3 separate regions of the Homo sapiens genome follow, and all the other regions are linked to region 1. The links are contacts of gene promoters, found by promoter capture Hi-C in human tissues and cell types (Jung and others, 2019). All regions are on one chromosome and are shown on one strand. Each heading gives the region's core, a stretch centred on a gene start or on the middle of the fragment in contact. The rest is flanking DNA. Distances are from core to core; before and after follow the strand shown.

What was found. Contacts are between HindIII fragments. The study calls those that stand out against the background at their distance.
Region 2: a fragment that was not itself captured here is called in contact with the fragment with the promoter of CSDC2 in region 1 in 2 of the 25 tissues and cell types used here (pancreas and thymus).
Region 3: a fragment that was not itself captured here is called in contact with the fragment with the promoter of CSDC2 in region 1 in 1 of the 25 tissues and cell types used here (aorta).

Annotation. Positions count from the first base shown.
Region 1 is chr22:41,559,134-41,562,939 of GRCh38, forward strand. It overlaps CSDC2 (cold shock domain containing C2), which reads left to right and starts at 1,877. Exons shown (of 4, transcript NM_014460.4): 1 at 1,877-2,050. It overlaps LOC105373044 (a long non-coding RNA gene), which reads right to left and starts at 1,750. Exons shown (of 2, transcript NR_134631.1): 1 at 1,587-1,750. The HindIII fragment of the contact is 6,219 bases long and covers 1-3,044 here.
Region 2 is chr22:41,761,268-41,765,073 of GRCh38, forward strand. MEI1 (meiotic double-stranded break formation protein 1) reads left to right here. Exons shown (of 31, transcript NM_152513.4): 19 at 1,907-2,054. Among named protein-coding and RNA genes, the nearest start is that of CCDC134, 38 kb to the right of the region's middle. The HindIII fragment of the contact is 7,279 bases long and covers 1-3,806 here.
Region 3 is chr22:41,405,150-41,408,955 of GRCh38, forward strand. No RefSeq gene overlaps it. Among named protein-coding and RNA genes, the nearest start is that of TEF, 25 kb to the left of the region's middle. RefSeq lists a silencer at 3,203-3,252. The HindIII fragment of the contact is 5,819 bases long and covers 1-3,806 here.

The DNA.
Region 1 (3,806 bases), core at 627-3,126:
GGTGCACCCCTGTAGTCCCAGCTACTCATGAGGCTGAGGCGGGAGGATCATTTGAGCCCAGGAGTTGGAAGCTGCAGTGAACTGTGATTGAGCCACTGCATTCTAGCCTGGGTAACAAAGCAAGACCCTGTTTCAAAAAAGAAAAAATAAATAAATAAAAAGGAGGAAAGAGAGAGGAGAATTTAAAGGGGAAGGGAGGCTCCTCTGGGTAGAGTTCTCAGGTGGGGCTGTGAAATAAAATCAGAACCCTGGCTGGGCGCGGTGGCTCACGTCTGTAATCCCAGCACTTTGGGAGGCTGAGGTGGGTGGATCACGAGGTCGGGAGATCGAGACCATTCTGGCCAACATAGTGAAACCCTGTCTCTACTAAAAATACAAAAAAATTAGCTGGGTGTGGTGGTGTGTGTCTGTAGTCCCAGCTACTCAGGAGGCTGAGGCAGGAGAATCGCTTGAACCCGGGAAGCGGAGGTTGCAGCGAGCTGAGATCAAGCCACTGCCCTCCAGCCTGGGCGACACAGCAATACTCTCTAAAAAAAATAATAATAATTCAGAACATCCCCAGGTAACCACAGGCAGCATTTCTCAACAGTCTCTCCTGCAGAACCAGAAACCCAGACTGTCTGAGCCTGATTGTCCTGAGAGGTTCTGGAAGGGCAGGGGCGTGTGGTGACACTGGGTGCTCCTGGGTTCCAGTACCTCTCTAGCCAGTTGGAAGAATATAGGCAAGTCAAGTCCTTCCTCCTCCCTGAGCCTCTAATTCCTCACCGGTAAAGTAGGGATGATAAAAATAAATTATTAAATTGTTGTGAGGTTTCAATGAGGGCAAAGCTTGCTGCCTGAAACAGAGCAAGCTCTTGTGGCGTCTTAGCTATTTGTATTAGTTACTTGTATTTTTCTCTGCGGTTTCCCTTTTAACTCCCACCTCCTTTTTATTTTAAAAAGACTCCTTTTGAAAATGCCAGCCTGCCTCAGTAGTACCAGGAGACACCAGGGAAAGGCTTCCTTCTTTCCAAGCTGAGGCTGAGAAGGAATGGGAAGAACGAAGAGAAGCACCTTTGTGGAGGCCTCCTCCAGCTGGCCCTGGGTTTAGGAACATCACACACTCAACCTCCAAAGGCCCTCAGGGGCTGGCCCAAGGTCACACAGCTTGACAGTGCGGAGCACTTCGAAGCCAGGGCGTGTGGTGTAGAACAGGCTGGGTGCCTGAATTCAATCAGCCCTCTCTACTTCTCTACTCAGAGCCTCCCAGGCTGTGGGGTGTTCACCTGTGCACCTTCAAGCCGATCACTTCCTTGGGGTCCTCGTCAATTCAATTCCATGGAAATATTACAAGGGGTAGACAGAGATGAGCCGTGTCAGTGTCTGTACTAGCAGAGGGCAGGACCACTGAGCGTCCGGAGGGGAGACGAGTGTCTGGGTGTCCCTGGGAACCTGGCTTGTCTCGACCCCTCTGGGGGGCTCCTCTTGGCTCTGACCTCCATTCTCCCAGACTCACCCCCACTCATGCCCACCCACCCCGAGGGGCCCCCCAGTGTGCACTCACACACTCACACTCAAACTCACCACCCCACTTGCTCTCTAATTACCAGGAACGTGGCGCTGTCTCAGGTTCTTCCTCCCCTGCATTCCTCAGCAGCTGCCCTCACTGGGCAGGGCAAATTATACCGTGGCCCGACCATAAAAGCCACTTTCCAAAAAAAGAAGCTTTAAGGCCCCCGAGAGACGCAGCTGAGCCTCTCACCTGGCAGTGCCTGACTCAGGAGGTGATGTCTGGGCCATGAGCCACAGAGCCTGGTGTCCCTTTAAGCAGGGAGTACAAATTCTCATCCCTCCCTCCTGCTCTCCCTGACGTCAGCTGGAAGGCGTGTGAGTGAGTGAGGGGCTGAGGTACCGCCCGCGCGAGCACACACAGACACACACACACACACACACACACACACACACACACATCTTCCAGACCCATCCCCTGCCTGCCAGCTCCACGAGCCAGAGAGAGACAGAGCGCGGACGCCGCAGGAGGCAGTGCCTGGACCCCAGCTGCCCAGGAGAGGTGAGGGGCTAGATGGGGCCTGAGGACACTGTGCCAGAAACTGTGGCTTTGGCCAGGCCGAAGGAGAGAGGTACAACGTGAAGGTGGGGGCTGGATCAGCCCAGTTCAGCTTACAGATAGGGTGTTGGGGGTATAGAGGATACCACCTGTCTCTCCCTCCCTCATTCTCTCCCCGTGACCCCCAAATGAGGTGAGGCCGTGTGGCTCCCGTGGGAGCATGTCTGTGTCTGTGTCTGTGTCTGTGTCTGGGACCTGCGTCTGGCTCAGGAGGCAGAGAGCAGCAGATACCTGCCAAGCCGCAGCCTCCTGTCTGGGAAGCAGCGGGAGAGAGGACCGCCTTGACCAGAGAAACCCCAGTGCCGCTTCCAGTTGCTGAAAGCAGAGTGCAGCAGGGACCCTTGCTGGTCCTTCCCCTGGAATGTTGGGCTGGGAAGGGACCGGCTGGGAAAGGCAGACAGTTGGACCTGGAGCAGCTGTCTTATCCTGACTCTATTTTTTCCCCAGTGTGATGGGGATAATTGTGTTAGTTGGCTTAGAGAGGTGGCTCCGTGTGGTTATTCTCTTCCCCCAGGTACCACCCCACCCCGAGCCCTTGCTTCTTGCCTGCCTGCTGGTCTGCTCTGACCTCCACCCTTGCCAGGGCACAGCCCCCGGAGGGCAGGGGTGATAAGTCAGGGCCTGCCAGGCCTCTATCTTGGGATACAGGGACTTAGGGTGGCCTTGGCTGGTGCCAAGCCCATGAATGGCCTGACCCTGGCACAAGGAGTCCAGGCGGAGATAAGGGGCGACGCTGGCACCCACAAGGAGACAGCAGGTTCCTGCCAAGCTGCCAGCCTGCAGGCTCTTCCCAGGGAGAGGGGAGGGGGACACAGAGCGAGAACAATAATAAATACAGAGTGTGAACTGCTGCATCCACTGGGGCTGGGGTAGGAGAGGAGGAAGTATGCCCAGTGGGGGGTGGGCAACCTCTCTGAGAGCCTGGCATCATGCTGCCTGGCTGTGATCCGGCAGGGGCCTCTCCCTGGGAAAGGGGGTCTCCAGCTTTCTGGGGGATGGGGAACTGGTTTCCCAAACCTGACTCCATCCCAGAGTCCTCTGGACCCTCCAAATTCTGAATGTTTCCTCCTCCCAGCTTTGCCCTGCCGCCCCCCATTTCCTTGAAGTCTTCTCCAAAAATGTCTGTTTTCTGTGTCTGCCCATCTTGACCCATCCTCACCCCCTTCAAAAAAAAAAAAAAAGACAGGTATAGACAGGAACTGCCTGCCCGTGTCCTGGGAAAGGCCAGAGGACAGTTTTGGCCACAGATGGCTCTCCCAGGCTTGGAGAGACATGGCTAGGCAATGTTCACGGATGCGCAGGGGGATTCCCTGAGGGGGACTTGGGGACACTCTCAGATGGCTGGTGGGGAGGGGACACCTGCCAGCCAGTCTGGAGTAGAGCCCCCTAGGGGGTAGAGGGCGCTCAGGACCTGGCTGAGCCAGTCATGTCCACGGTCACAACTGGGGCAGCCAGGACCCAGAGCCTTGTAGGAATGGGGCTTGGGGCAGTTCAGACCTTTGTCCATGCTGAGCAGCAAAATGGGAGGCTAAAAGTAGTAGGGAGCTCTTCTGCCCCACAGCCAGCAAAATGACACTCCTGGGCTGGGGGGCTGGCATGGCACACCAGAAAGCTGTGGGGTCACACTGATTGGAGTTCAAGTTCAGATGCTGTATGTATGTATGACTTTGACCAGTCTATTCCTCTCTCTAGGGGGTCT
Region 2 (3,806 bases), core at 635-3,134, 200 kb after region 1:
GCCATTGCACTCCAGCTTGGGCGACAGAGTGAGACTCAGTGTTTTTTTTTTGTTTTTTTTTTTTTGAGACGGAGACTCACTCTGTCGCCCAGGCTGGAGTGCAGTGGCCCAATCTCGGCTCACTGCAAGCTCTGCCTCCCGGGTTCACGCCATTCTCCTGCCTCAGCCTCCTGAGTAGCTGGAAATTCAGGTGCCCGCTACCACGCCCGGCTAATTTTTTGTATTTTTAGTATAGACGGAGTTTCACTGTGTTAGCCAGGATGGTCTGGATCTCCTGACCTCGTGATCTGCCCGCCTCGGCCTCCCAAAGTGCTGGGATTACAGGCGTGAGCCACTGCGCCCGGCCGACTCAGTCTTAAAAGAAAAAAAAAATTATTAAGGTAAAATTTACACAACATAAGCTTGACCATTTTAAAGTGAACAATTCAGTGGTATTTAATAGTACCTTTAAAATGCACAACCACCACCTTCATCTAGTTCTAGAACATTTCCATCACTGCAAAGCTGTCACTTCCGTTCCTCCTCCCCAGCTCCTGGCAATCAACAATCTGTTCTGTCTCTTTGGAGTTACCTATTCTGAATATTTCACATAGATGGAATCATACAGTGTGTGACTTTTTGTGTCTGGCTTCTTCCACTTAGCATATCATTTTAGAAGTCCATCCAGTGAGCATAATGTTTGTACCGTGTATCAGTACTTCATTCCTTTTATGGCTGATTAATATACCTTTGTATGTATACACCATAATTTGCTTTTATTCACCTATTGGTGGACATTTGGGCCTATCCACCTTTTGGCTATTGTGAATAGTGCTGTTGTAAACATGTGTGTACATGTATTTGTTTGAGTAGTGTTTTTAATTCTTTTTGGGTATATTCTCAATCCTCTCACCTTGGCCTCCTCAAATGCTACCATTACAGGCGTGAGCCACTGCACCTGGCCTCCTGTTTGCTGTCTTTTCGCTTTCTTTTCTTTCTTTCTTCCTTTCCTTTCCATTCCTGTCCTGTCCTATCCTGTCCTTTCCTCTTTTCCCTCCCCTCCCTTCACCTCCCTTCCTCTTACTTCCCCTCCCCTACTCTACCCTCCCTTTTTCCTTACCTTCCCCTTCCCCCTTCCTCTCCTTTCCTTTTGTATCTTGCTCTCTTACCCAGGCTGAATTGCAGTAGCACAATCATGGCTCGCTGCAGCCTCAACCTCCTGGGCTCCAGCGATCCTCCCATCTCAGCCTCCCATGTAGCTGGGACTATAGGCATGCGTCTACACAACCAGCTAATTTAACTGATTTTTTTTTTTTTTTTTGTAGAGAAGAGGTCTGACTATGTTGCCTAGGCTGGTCTCGAACTCCTGGCCTCAAGCAGTTCTCCCACCACAGCCTCCCAGAGTGCTGGGACTCTAGGCATGAGCCATCACACCTGGCCGTTTTCACTTTCTTAGTGGTATCTTTTAAGCACAAATGTTTTTAATTTTGATGACCTCTAATTTATCCATTTTTTTCTTTTGTCATTTATGCTTTTGGTGTTATATCTGTTAAATACACCACTGTTTAATGATAAATACAAGAAGAGAGGGGTGGAGCAGCTGCCAGAGCAGGGCCTTCTGAACCCCAGCAGTAGCACCCTTCTCTTTAACACTGCTGGTCCAGCTGGCAGATAGCTCACCTCCCAAGTGTGAATGAGGAGTATTTGGCCCCTAACTGAGCCTTGCACAAGGCACAGAACAATGTGATGTATATATATGGCAGTGCTTTGTAAGTATGTATAGCACACTGTTTGTCTAAGATGTCATTAGGCTGTGGGCATATTGGGGCAGGACAGTGGGCTGAGGAAGGATGCGGCCAGGCAGAATAGAAGAGCCCAGTGGCCTGCCAACTCTGCCTTTCTCACTCAGGCTTTTCTTGGTTGACAGGTTTGTCTCAGAGGCAGAGTTATTTGAGGCTGTGCAAAGCTTCCTCCTGTCGCTGCAGGACCAGGGCGAGCGCCCCCCACTGGTGGTCTTCAAAGCCTCCATCTATCTGCTTGCAATCTGCCAGGACAAAGACAATACACTACGTGAGGTATGGACCACAATGCCTGGGCTCCTTGTCCTTCTGTACCTCTTTACATTAGTGTTCCCTGGGAGACCATGATGATGATAGTGTATAGACAAGCGGGTGGTAGAGAGAGACAAAGCGGAGGTGTTAGGAGTGTGGAGAGGAGTAGGATGCAGACTCATACAGAGCCTGTATAATTTACCTAATTATCTCAGCCTTCCTGGGAGGAAGAGATTATTTGCATTCTACAGATAAGAAAATCGGGACTGAGGCTGGGCACGGTGGCTCACGTCTATAATCCCAGCACTTTGGGAGGCTGAGGTGGGCGGATCACTTGAGTTCGGGAGTGCAATGGTGTGATTTCGGCTCACTGCAACCTCCACCTTCTGGGTTCAAGCGATTCTCCTGCCTCAGCCAGGAGTTCAAGACCAGCCTGGGCAACATAGTAAGACCTTGTCTCTACAAAATATTAAAAATTAAAAAAAAACAACAACTCTTTGGTCACCTTTGGAGGATGCTATGCAACAAACTCATGTTTTTGAAAACTGGTAACCACAGGAAAAGAATCAAGCACTTAACCTATGTTTCCTATGTAATCTAATCTAACCCTTCAGAGTAACTGAATAGTTAATGAGGGGAAGTTTCCTTTTTTTTTTTTTTTTTTTTTGAGACGGAGTCTCGCTCTGTCACCCAGGCTGGAGTGCAGTGGCAGGATCGCTGTGGCAGGATCGCTGCTGACCACAACCTCCACCTCCTGGGTTCACGCCATTCTCCTGCCTCAGCCTCCTGAATAGCTGGGACTACTGGCGCCCGCCACCACACCCGGCTAATTTTTTGTATTTTTAGTAGAGACGGGGTTTCATCCTGTTAGCCAGGATGGTCTCAATCTCCTGACCTCGTGATCTGCCCGCCTCGGCCTCCCAAAGTGCTGGGATTACAGGCGTGAGCCACCGTGCCCGGCTGGAAGTTTCCTTTTATACAAGTATTTAAGTTAATAAACAGATAATGACAGAACTAGAATATTATTGTTTTGTAATCCCTAATTAATTAGTGGATCTAGGCAATGATCACCAGTGGCTGCTACTAGCACAAAGAGAGAGACAACAGGACATTGTGTGCCCAGGTGTGTCTTACTTGAAAACCCATTCACTTCCACTATGCCTTTCTGTTTCCACTCAAATTAAACCAGGTCTACTCTCATCACATTTGCCTCAACAGTAATCAAAAAGAGGCAAAATTAATAGTCAATGGAGGAAGAGTGCCTTTAGCTTTAGACTGAAGGGTCCACACTAAGGAACAGAAGCAATATTCTATGAAATAGGTGAGAGGTTCAGTGATGAATCAGACGTGGTCCTTGATTCCAGGAGTTTATAAGGAAGCTGGAGAGAGAAAACTTGTCCACACACAACCACCACGAAAGTGATCCAATAGCCTAATTAACAATGATCTGAGTCCCAGCAATCCACTTTCTTTAATAAACTGTTACCAGAAGAAGATACCAATACCTTAGAGCTCTTTGCTCCTGTACCAACCAGAGGTGGTACTAAGGAATGAGCCTTAGGAGTCAGTCAAGTCTGAGCTGGAGTCCGACTCCCGCATCAGTTAACTGTGTGACCTAGAGAAAGTTACTTGAACTTCAGTCTTGATTTTTTTTTTCAGAATACTAATAATGTTCATGACCTGAGAAGCCTTTGCTTCAAAATGAAAAGTTCTAATAATTGAACAACCAAGAGTCTTGCTCTTGTTTCCCAGGCTGGAGTGCAATGGCGCCATCTT
Region 3 (3,806 bases), core at 783-3,282, 150 kb before region 1:
TCCCAACTACTCGGGATGCTGAGGCAGGAGAATGGTGTGAACCCAGGAGGCAGAGCTTGCAGTGATCCGAGATTGTGCCACTGCACTCCAGCCTGGGCGAGAGCGAGACTGTCTAAATAAATAAATAAATGTTAAATTTTTTTTTAAAATAAATAAAGAATAAATGGGCCGGGTGCAGTGGCTCATACCTGTAATCCCAGCACTTTGGGAGGCTGAGGCGGGCGGATCATGAGGTCAGGAGATCGAGACCATCCTGGCTAACACGGTGAAACCCCATCTCTACTAAAAAATACAAAAAATTAGCTGGGCGTGGTGGCGGGCACCTGTAGTCCCAGCTACTCGGGAGGCTGAGGCAGGAGAATGGCGTGAACCTGGGAGGCAGAGCTTGCAGTGAGCCGAGATTGCACCACTACACTCCAGACTGGGCGACAGAGCGAGACGCCGTCTCAAAAAAAAAAAAAAAAGAATAAATGTGGGCAAGAACTGGAACCCCATGGGGTGCACGGAGCAGGCCTGCCATATCAGGATGAGGCCAAGGAGGGAGCTTTTTCAGGGGCCTCCTCGAGTGGGGGTGGTGTGTGCAGGTACCGTGTGTGTGGGTTGGGGAAAAGGTGGGTGGACAGGAAACCAGGGGCCCCTGGGGCCTCAGCACTGCCTTTTCAAGTGGGGCAAGATCTCTGGGGCCTCCCCTGCCCTGAGGCCCAGAGCCTGAGTTGCCCGAGTGCCTGTGTCTCAGTGTGTGTACAATTGTGTCTATGTGTGTCTGTGACTGTTCCTGGGTATATGTGTGTGCGTCCAACTGCGTCTGGCAGGGTTAGCATATGTGTACACAAATGGGTCTGTGTGTGTCCTCACCAGGGACTCTCTCACCTTGACCGAGGAGTCCGCGGATCCCAGGGCACCAGGAGGTTTCTTTCTTTCTTTTTTTTTTTTGAGATGGAGTCTTGCTCTGTCGCCCAGGCTGGAGTGCAGTGGTGCTATCTCGGCTCACTGCAAGCTCTGCCTTCCGGGTTCATGCCATTCTCCTGCCTCAGCCTCCCGAGTAGCTGGGACTACAGGCACCCACCACCACACCTGGCTAATTTTTTTTTTTTTTTTTTTGTATTTTTGGTAGAGACGGGATTTCACCATGTTAGCCAGGATGGTGTCGATCTCCTGACCTCGTGATCCGCCCGCCTCGGCCTCACAAAGTGCTGGGAGTACAGGCGTGAGCCATTGCACCCGGCCCAGGAGGTTTCATATCCATGCCAGGAGGGGCCCACAGGGCCTGGGGCAGCTGCTCAATTGGCAGCTGGGGCAGTGCCCTGTGAAGGCTCTGGGGTACCCTGCTTCTGTTCCAGCCCCCTACCCCCATCCCCAGTCCCTAGTAACTGGATCTTCTCTCTCCATCTCTCCCCTGGAAGGACCCAGTGCTTCCTGATTTGCATGATATTTACATACATTTGAATTTAGATCCCTGCTTCCCTGAGGCATACAGCATTATTCTCACTCCTGCCAGAGTAGTCAAGGAGGCTGTGGACTTCCTTAGCATAAGGGAGTCCAGGGATTAAGCTGGAGGGGCCCAACACCTCCCCTCTTCCCCATACAGAGTCAGCCTGGCTCTTTTCCTGCTCAAGATATGTGATTATTTAATTAATTAATTTATTTTTTGAGACTGTTTCACTCTGTCACCCAGGCTGGAGTGCAGTGGTGTGATCTTGGCTCACTGCAACCTCTGCCTCCTGGGTTCAAGTGATTCTCCTGCCTTAGCCTCTCAAGTACCTGGGATTACAGGCGCATGCCACCACACACAGCTACTTTTTGTATTTTTAGTGGAGATGGGGTTTCACCATGTCGGCCAGGCTGGTCTCGAACTCCTGACCTCAAGTGATCTGCCCGCCTCAGCCTCCCAAAGTGCTGGGATAACAGGTGTGAGCCACCGTGCCTGGTCATGTAATTATTGAGCACTTACTGTGTCAGTTTTTGTTTTTTTGAGACAGAGTCTTGCTCTGTTGTCCAGGCTGGAGTGCAGTGGCACAATCTCAGCTCTCAGCTCACTGCAATCTCCGCCTCCCGAGTTCAAGTGATTCTCCTCCCTCAGCCTCCTGGATAGCTGGGATTACAGGTGCCCGACATCACCCCTGACCAAGTTTTGTATTTTTAATAGAGACGGGGTTTCATCATGTTGGTCGGGCTGGTCTTGAACTCCTGATCTAAAGCTATCCACCTTCCTCCGCCTCCCAAAGTGCTGGGATTATAGGCGTGAGCCACCACACCCGGCCAGATTTTTTTTTTTAATTGAGATGAGGGTCTCCCTGTGTTGCCCAGGCTGGTCTCAAACTCCTGGGCTCAAGTGATCCTCCCACCTCAGCCTCCCAAAGTGCTGGAATTACAGGCATGAACTATACCGTGCCAGGACAGCAGATGCTTTCTATGCCCATTCATTTCAACCTCACAACAGCCCTTTACGGTATCTTTACATCCATTTTATAGATAGGAAAACAGGTTCAGAACAATTAAGTGACTTGGTTGAGACCACCCAGTAAGTAGGATTTGAACCCAGCTCTGGTGAACTTTCTGTTGACACGGCTGGAGTGTGGGCTTAGTAAGGGGGCCTAGGCACTTTCTTTCTTGGCTCCTGCCCTTGAGTAACAAACCTGGCTCTTGCTCTTTTGACTCAAGGGTCACTATGTCCCCTGGGGAGATAAGAGGAGCGGTAGTGGTGGTGGTGGTAGCAGACTATTTTTGTATTTTTAGTAGAGGTGGGGTTTCACCACGTTCGCCAGGCTGGTCTCGAACTCCTGACCTTGTGATCCACCTGCCTCAGCCTCCCAAAGCGCTGGGATTACAGGCGTGAGCCACCACGCCCAGTCTGCTAAGTGCTTTTCAAGCATTTTCTCAAACTGTCTTTCCCACAACCCTTTGTGAGTTACATCTTATTATAAATCGCATTTCACAGGTGAGAAAACTAGGGCACAGCGGCCAGGTGCGGTGGCTCACACCTGTAATCCCAGCACTTTGGGAGGCCGAGGCGCGTTGATCACGAGGTCAGGAGATCGAGACCATCCTGTCTAACACAGTAAAACCCCATGTCTACTAAAAATACAAAAAAATTAGCCGGGCGTGGTGGCAGGTGTCTGTAGTCCCAGCTACTCGGGAGGCTGAGGCAGGAGAATGGCGTGAACCCAGGAGGCGGAGCTTGCAGTGACGAGATGGTGCCACTGCACTCCAGCCTGGGCGACAGAGCGAGACCCTGTCTCAAAAAAAAAAAAAAAAAAAAAAGAAAAGAAAACTAGGGCACAGAGAGGTGAAGTGAGTAGCCCAAGATCACATAGCTAAGAAATGTTACAGGCAGACTCAAACTGAGATCTATCTGGGTCCAGAGTCTGTGCTTTTATTCTCTGTGTTGCACTGAACTGAACTATCAAGAAATGGAAATTCTAGCCGGGCACAGTGGCTCACGCTTATAATCCTAGCACTTTGGGAGGCTGAGGCATGTGAATTGCCTGAGCTCAGGAGTTCAAGATCATGCTGGACAACATAGTGAAATCTCTTCTCTGCTAAAACACAAAAACTTAGCCAGGTGTGGTGGTGGGTACCTGTAGTCCCAGCTACTCAGGATGCTGCGGCACGAGAATTGCTTGGGCCTGAGAGGTGGATGTTGCAGTGAGCTCAGCTGAGATCGTGTCACTGCACTCCAACCTGGGCAGCCTGGGCAGCAGAGCGAGACTCCGTCTCAAAAAAGAAAAAAGAAAAAGGACTGCCAACTCTGGCTGGCTGGGCTGGGCTGGGCTGGGCTGGGCAAGGTAAGTCAATCTCACCTCTCG